Regions from separate parts of the Homo sapiens genome. Here regions 2 and 3 are each linked to region 1. The links are contacts of gene promoters, found by promoter capture Hi-C in blood cells and fetal thymus (Javierre and others, 2016). All regions are on one chromosome and are shown on one strand. The core of a region is centred on a gene start or on the middle of the fragment in contact, and the rest is flanking DNA. Distances in the headings are between cores, read along the strand shown.

Region 1 (2,560 bases), core at 44-2,543:
TAAAGGTATATACAAATAAAATGGAGTTAAGTGCACTTATTTATTGAATCCTGTTGTGAGAACTTAAGAGGAAAAGAAACTGAGGAAAAAAACTAAGGAAAATCCGAAATTCTCCCGAGGAAGGTCCAAGAAAAAACAATGTGGAAGTGAAGTCAGAGAGATAACATCAGGACATTGGACATCAGGAGGAACTTTCAGGTCTGATTCTAGTGCCAAGGAAGCCATGAACGCTCTTTCCTGGAGCCTTTCAGCATAGGAGAGTTACTCATCTGCCAGGGCTGGGGATGGGGTAACTCTCCCATTCCCCAGGTGAAGGAGCTTTCCTTTCAGGGCCTTCCTGCTAGACAGACTGTGGCTGGGCCAGCCTGGTTCTTCCAAGTGCCCTCACCATGGCCTCCTTAATTTCCTTGTTGCGGAAACTATAAATGATGGGGTTGCACATGGGGGTAATGATGGTGTACAGGAGGGAGAAAGGTTTGTCTTTGTCAGGCCCATGTGTGCTGTGGGGGTTCATGTAAGAGAACATAGCTGAAGTGTAGAGAAAGATGACCACAGTCAGGTGAGAGGCACAAGTAGAGAAAGTCTTCCCCCGACCTGAGGAGGAGGCTTTGCTGAGGATGGTGGCCAGGATGTGCACATAGGAAGTGACAGTGAGCACCATGGGGCTGAGAATTACCACGATGGCATCGGCAAAGATTGCCCACAGACTAAACTGAGGGTCCCCACAAGAGAGGCCAATCACTATGGGGGCCTCACAGAAGAAGCTTTCTATGTGGTTGTCTCTGCGGAAGGGCTCTCGGAATGAAATATACTCGAGAAAGATGCCATTGATCAGCCCAAAGAACCAGGCAGTTCCCACAAGCCTGACACAGACCTTCTGGCTTATGATCGGGACATAGTTAAGTGGGTAGCAGATAGCAACATAACGGTCATAGGCCATGAAAGCCAAGAGGATGCACTCGGCCACACCAACACAGAAGACAAAGTACATCTGGGTCATGCAACATACAAAGGAGACAATGTGGTCCCTGACCACGAGGTGGATCAACATCTGTGGGATGGTAGTGGTGATGAAGCAGACATCCAGGAGAGACAGATGGCCGAGGAAGAAGTACATGGGGCTGTTGAGCTTGGGGTCTGTCCAGGAGGTGATAAAGATGATGAGGCCATTCATGGCCATGGTGAGGCTGTAGAGGGCCAAGAAGAGGGCAAAGAGCAATGCTCGTGTGGAAGTGGAGCTCTGCTGAAAGCCCACGAGGATAAATTCCGTCACTATGCTGCCATTCCTTAGCATCTGGGGCCTGTTTGAGGAGGAAAGATGATGGGAAAAGCACAAGGGTATAGCTGTGGGGTAATAGAAGGTACCCACTTGGTCCCAGAAGCCCAATTATAAAACAGGATGGATGAATGGTGGTCAACCTTTTGGAACTTAGTAAACTAGTAATTTGGCAGTGTTACGGGGTGGTGAAAATGCCAGGGTCATCACAGGCTGCATACATAGAATCATAATATCAACAGATGAAGAAAGTGCTGGTTGTAATGTTCTTTACTCTGGTTTCATCAGGCATCAAGTGAAGTATTGCATCTGCTCCAGAGCCCTCAATATTGAAGGATTAGCCATTAACCAGGATGTATTCAGAGGTGAAAAAATAAGATAATTGGGTCTGGGACCATGCCAACTGAGGAAAAGTTTTAGGAATTGAAGAATGGAGTGTGTGAGGGAAAGGGCTGGTGGCTATCAGGTTATAGAAGATTGTATTTAGGAAGCACTTGAGATATTTGAAGGTGTATTTTTCTAGAAGCAAAAATGCTCAACCTCTGTGTACCTAATTTAAAATGATGAATGGGTTGAAGTTTCAGGGAAAATAAAAACATTCTAATCCTCACAATTGTCCCTCAGCTAACAGTGATTTGCACCTTTTTGGAGACAGTCATGTCAAGCTCTTCCCAGTCACCCACCTCTTCCCAGACTCACTCGCCCAGCAGTTGCTGCTGCTACCGCAGCCACCCATGCTGTGCATGCTGGAGCTGAGGGCTGGGTGGGGGCTCATGCATGCCTTCCTAATAGGAGATGGTTTTCCTCCTGGGGCTGGAATTTACGGTTACACACAATTGGGTGGAAAGGATCCAACCATCCCTGTGTGAAAAGGGAAGCTATGAGCAGGGCATATATCTAACCTTTCTAGAATGGACCTTCAGAGAACTTTCAACTGTCTCTTTGTCTCTGGCAACAAATCTTGTTCTTTTTCCATTTTCAAAGAATGAGCGGTCACAATTCTTATGCTCTTATCTCTCTATTGTAACTTTTAGGAAGTTGTTATGTTCATATTAAGTCTGTCTTATACTTTTCATGTTGTTTTGGAGCTAAGATGTATCAGATCCCTTCCACCTTCAGATGCTTATACTTTTTTTTTTTTTTTTAAGAATTTATAGAGACAGGTACTCACTATGTCACCTGTGCTGGTCTTGAACTTCTGGCTTTAAGTGATTCTCCTGCCTTGGCCTCCCAAAGTGCTGGGATTACAGATGTGAGCTACTGCACCCATCCTCATCTTCAGAT
Region 2 (2,560 bases), core at 46-2,545, 370 kb after region 1:
TGGATCCGTCTACAGTTCCTTGAATAGATTAGGTGATCAATAAAAGTTTGTTGCATTGAGTTGGTACAGACAGTAACCTTCACCTTTCTATTGTAAATTCAGCCTACTTCTTCTTCAGTAGAGATGGAAGGTGGCTATGACCTATGGCTTCAGTGTCCACCTACTCATCCTATTTCTTCCCCTTCCCTCCAGGGGGAAAAAAATTACAGCCAGTGACTTCAAAGTGGGACCTTTATTCAAGACAGAGGTGAAATCTGTGCTGTAGTGAAAGTGCCATCGAAGGCACTGAGTAAGGGTCTAGAGCTCAGTGCACCACTCAGGCATCCCTGGAAAATAGTCTTCAAGAATTCGGTGATGTCACTACAGGGCCCAAGGCTCAGAGACAGATAAGCTTTGGGGGAACAGAAAGAAACAAACTGAGGTGGCATTAGGGAAGAGGTATTCCAGGAGTGTGGAGTGGGCAGGGGTGCCAAGGACAGCAGACACTCACAACTTCTCACAAAGCCACTGTTCCAGCTTCTCAGTGCAGAGGGCTTTATGGGCCAACCTGATAATGGAGAAGGGGGACAAGGTGAGTTAGCTGACTGAATCTTTACATTCATTCCCAGGAGGGCTGAAGTGGAAGAGCGTGGACGAGAATTACAGAAAGACATTCCTGGCCTGATGTCAAGCGACACAAGCCATCAAGTGGAATACAGTCCATAAAAAATATCCAAGAAAATTGTAGGGTTAAAAAAGAGATGCAATGTTACCAACAGCTTGCTTTAGGGCATAGAACTAAACAAGTGGAATTAGATGTCCAAGTCTAAGTGAAAGGAGGCCTGGGTCTGAGCCCTCCATTAGGCAACCCCTTATTAGGAAAATTGCTACCAAGGAGCGGAGCGAGAGAGGCTTAATAACAGAAACCTGAGTCTCTAGGTAAGCTTTGTTTCAGACACTGTATTCTAGATTAAATGACCAAGAGATAGGGTAAGAGGAAAGGGGTGCTGGGCTAATGGGGTAAGGAGAAGGAGGATGGGGAAATAGAAAATAGAATAAGGATTCACCAGTAGTCAATTCCTTTAATATCCAGGATCTTCTTGGCACACATTATGTCATCAGTAATGTCATCATCCAGGAACTCTGGCAGGAGTTACAGGGAAAGGATTGAGACAGCTGACAAGTATTACCCAGAAAGGCACTGAGTTCCCCTAACCCCTGGATCCAGTGGGTTCTCTAAACTCAAGGCTTGTGCCTGTTGTCTTTCTATATGAAAGGACCAATGTGGTAATGTCTAACCCTGGGTAGGGACTTCCTTCATTTCCCTGGGATATCTCTGGAGGAATCATCAGCTTCATCAACTGACTTACCCTGAAAATGCAGACAATCAGATTCCAAGACTCTCAGACAGCTCCGATTGTCTACCACTGAACCTCAAGGAACTGTCTGGGGATTTGATGACCATGAAAAATCCAAACAGCTTCTTACTCAGTACTGCCAATTCAAGTCCCACAATTTTTATAGAGCCCAGCCAAGGCAATGAAGCCTGAGGTCTGCTTGGCACTAAAAAGGAGATTATCCCAAGGGCAGGCCTCAGAAAAACAGAGAAAGAGGGTTATAGGGGCTACTCACTGTCACAGGAGATGTCACAGATGTTCCTTGACTGAGGGACCTGGCTGCTCTTGCACCAAAGCTTATTACTGATCTGGAAGAGTCCATATTCCGTGCTTTCATTGTTTTCAACTATGGCTTGTGTGTCATAACCACTGGTGTGAAACATGGTACAGATCACTGAGGGAAAGATGAGAAAGAGATACCACAGAGATGTACAGGATCTGCATAAAGGAGGAACTGTAATTCTCAGACAAAAATGCTTTCCAGCCAATCTCCAAAGATGGCAAAGCTCAGAGTTTCTTGATGAGATGGAGAATTCCAAAAAAAAATCAGACAATAAGAGAAAGAAAGGATAGGAAAATAAATGGGGCCAGGCATGATGGCTCACGCTTGTAATCCCAACACTTTGGGAGGCTGAGGAGGGCGGATCACCTGAGGTCAGAAGTTTGAGACCAGCCTGGCCAACATGGTGAAACCCTGTCTCTACAAAAAATACAAAATTAGCCAGGCATGGTGGTGGGTGCCTGTAATTCCAGCTACTTGGGAGGCTGAGGCAGGAGAATCACTTGAACCGAGGAGGCGGAGGTTGCAGTGAGCCGAGATTACACCATTGCACTCCAGTCTGGGCAACAAGAGCGAAACTCCACCTCAAAAATAAATAAATACATACATATATACATACATGAAATAAAAGAGTATGCAAATGAGCAGAAAAGAGGATGATTAGATAATTAAGTAAAAGTGGAGGGGCGAAGTGGAAGAAAGAGGGGATGGAGGAGAGAAGCGTATGAGGAATGGATGAAACACAGAGGCAGGGAACTCACATTCAGGCAAAGCGATGCCTCCATAACCATCTATGTCTTTCAGCAGCTGGGACAGCTCACATTTTGTGAATTGCTTGGCCAGGATGGCAGGGAACAGGATGCCCACCAGGAACAGAGGGACAAAGAACCTCATTTTGGCTACC
Region 3 (2,560 bases), core at 34-2,533, 340 kb after region 1:
ACAGGGTATTAATATTCAGAATGTACAAGGAATGCAAACAACAACAACAAAAACAAATAATCCTATTTAAAAGTGGGCAAATGGCCAGGTGCAGTGGCTCATGCCTGCAATCCCAACACATCTGGACATCGAGGCAGGAGGATCACTTGAGCCGGGAGTTCAAGACCAGCCTGGGCAATGTAGCAAGACCCCGTCTCTATTAAAATTAAAAAGTTAGCTGGGCATGGTGGTGTGAGTCTGTGGTTCCAGCTACTGGGGAGGCTGAGGTGGGAGGATCACTTGAGCCCAGGAGGTTGAGGGTGCAGTGAGCTATGATTGCACTACTGCACTCCAGTCTGGGTGACAGAGCAAGACTCTATCTCAAAAAAAAAAAAAAAGTGAAAGAAGGATGTAAATAGATATTTTGCAAAAGAAGACATATGAATGGCCAACAAGTATAGGAAAAAATGCTCAACGTCACTCATCATCAGAGAAATACAAATTAAAATTGCAATAAGATATCATCTTACACCAGTCAGAATGGCTAGAATTCAAAGGACAAAAAATAACTGATGTTGGTGAGGATGCAGAGAAAAGGGAATGCTTATACACTGTTGGTGGGAATGTAAATTAGTACAACCTCTATGAAAAGCAGTATGGAGATGATGGATATGTTAATTAGCTCCATTACGGTGATTATTTCACAATGTATACATATATCAAAATATCAGTTTGCATATCTTAAATATATACAATTTTTGTTCATCAATTATACCTCATAAAAGCTGGGGGGAAGGATGTATTGGTGTATTTAATGAAATATTGAAAAGACATTTATTTTTCCTATTTAAGAATGAGGATATACAAGGAGGCTGCATGCCTTCAGATGACCCCTCAACGCAGTCACTGTGCCTAGGTATCTGTGTTTACATCTCAGACCCATAGGAATGACCCCACAAAAACACTGAATCTCATTTGAAAAGAATTACAAGTGTTTGGGGTGGGGATAAGTGTCAGAAGGGAGAGGAAATAAGGCAGGCAATCACTGACTCCCTTCTGATCCAGTGATACCATACTATATGTGATACAAGTGGTTTGGGAATAGAATTCAGTAGACATTTCAGAAGGGTCAGGCTTCTCTACTTAACTCTGACTTATTACAATAGCCCTAGAACTCAAGTGGTGGAACAATCAATAGTTTAGGTTAAGTATCCTTTCCCTTTACACAGAAAGTATCCATCAAACTCCAAAGGAAAGGAAAATGGTGGAAAGGCTAAATTAGCATGACTAGCAATCGTGGGAGTTCTCTTGCTGCCACCACTCTTAAGCCTTGGCTTCACCTCTGTTCCCACTCAGGTTGGTCCCTAAAGAGTACATGAAAAGAGAAATGAGAAGTGGACTTGGGCAGAAAAATGAGCATAGCTAAATGAGCTAAATGGTAAGCATCATGTTTTCATTCCCCAAAACATGTCCTCTCTCTTTCTTATCATCATAAGGTTAGTTGGGACCCAGAAAAATGGCAAGTCCCTTGAGAACTTCCCTGCAAAATATGGTGCAACCACTATGAACAAGAAATGGAAGAATGAATTGTACAGGTATAAGAGGTAAGAGATCCTTTCCTGAGTTCCCCTTAGCCTTAGAATGACAGGGGAAGGCAGTGACTACTAGTAGGGCAAGAATGTCAGCTTACAGGCCGGGTGCGGTGGCTCCTACCTGTAATCCCAGCACTTTGGGAGGCTGAGGAGGGCAGATCATGAGGTCAGGAGTTCAAGATCAGCCTGGCGTGTATGGCGAAACCCCGTCTCTACTAAGAATACAAAAATTAGCCGGGCATGGTAACGCACACCTGTAGTCCCAGCTACTCGGGACGCTGAGGCAGAAGAATCGCTTGAACCCGGGAGGCGGAGGTTGCAGTGAGCCAAGATTGCGCCACTGCACTCCAGCCTAGGTGACAGAGGGAGATTCCATCTCAAAAAAAAAAAAAAAAAAAGAATGTCAGCTTACGAGAGAGTTAGCAGCCCACTGTAGTATACTATAAGACACATATTGCAGCTGTAAGATTAATGATAACCATAAGGCCCACTCAAACATCTCACAGGACCTACACTATATATGATGATGCAACTTGTCCTAGTAATACTCTGGCCAGAGTTGGAAATCCCCAGGCCACCTTGCATCATACTGCTAAGTGACATATAGTGTGGGCCATGTGTGATATTTGAGTGGGCCTTATGGTTATTGTTAATCTTGTAGCCACAGTATGTCTCTAATAGTATACTACACCCACAAAGGGTCTTATGACCAGAACAAAAGGAAATTGACTTAGCAAATATGCCTTGGACAGCCTTGCCAGCAACTGGATAAGGATCATCTACGCCATGCTAGATTACCAGGAGAGAGAGGGCCACACCTGAGGGCCAGAGGGGATGAGTCACATGTGGAGCAGGAAATCAGCATAGAACCAAGGCAGGCCACCAGTGAGTAGATGCCTGTGGTCACCAACACCACAGTTACTCTAGGGTCAGCATAACATCAACCCCCAGTAAGAGACAAGAAGGGGAAAATCTTAATGTATAGTTAT

The links. The method cuts DNA at HindIII sites, captures the fragments that hold promoters and counts their contacts. A CHiCAGO score of 5 or more calls a contact.
Region 2: a fragment that was not itself captured here is called in contact with the fragment with the promoter of OR10AD1 in region 1 in 1 of 17 cell types (endothelial precursors); the score reaches 5.7 in endothelial precursors.
Region 3: a contact is called between a fragment that was not itself captured here and the fragment with the promoter of OR10AD1 in region 1, in 1 of 17 cell types (endothelial precursors). The highest score is 5.2, in endothelial precursors.

The regions. Positions count from the first base shown.
Region 1 is chr12:48,201,999-48,204,558 of GRCh38, forward strand. It overlaps OR10AD1 (olfactory receptor family 10 subfamily AD member 1), which reads right to left and starts at 1,294. Exons shown (of 1, transcript NM_001004134.1): 1 at 341-1,294. The coding sequence starts at 1,294. The coding sequence ends at 341. All of the region lies in intron 1 of LOC102725258 (a long non-coding RNA gene), which reads left to right. The HindIII fragment of the contact is 3,232 bases long and covers 763-2,560 here.
Region 2 is chr12:48,567,471-48,570,030 of GRCh38, forward strand. LALBA (lactalbumin alpha) reads right to left here. Exons shown (of 4, transcript NM_002289.3): 1 at 2,418-2,560; 2 at 1,612-1,770; 3 at 1,047-1,122; 4 at 214-547. The coding sequence starts at 2,550. The coding sequence ends at 487. Among named protein-coding and RNA genes, the nearest start is that of LALBA, 1.3 kb to the right of the region's middle. The HindIII fragment of the contact is 749 bases long and covers 922-1,670 here.
Region 3 is chr12:48,538,151-48,540,710 of GRCh38, forward strand. No RefSeq gene overlaps it. Among named protein-coding and RNA genes, the nearest start is that of OR8S1, 14 kb to the left of the region's middle. The HindIII fragment of the contact is 2,735 bases long and covers 1-2,560 here.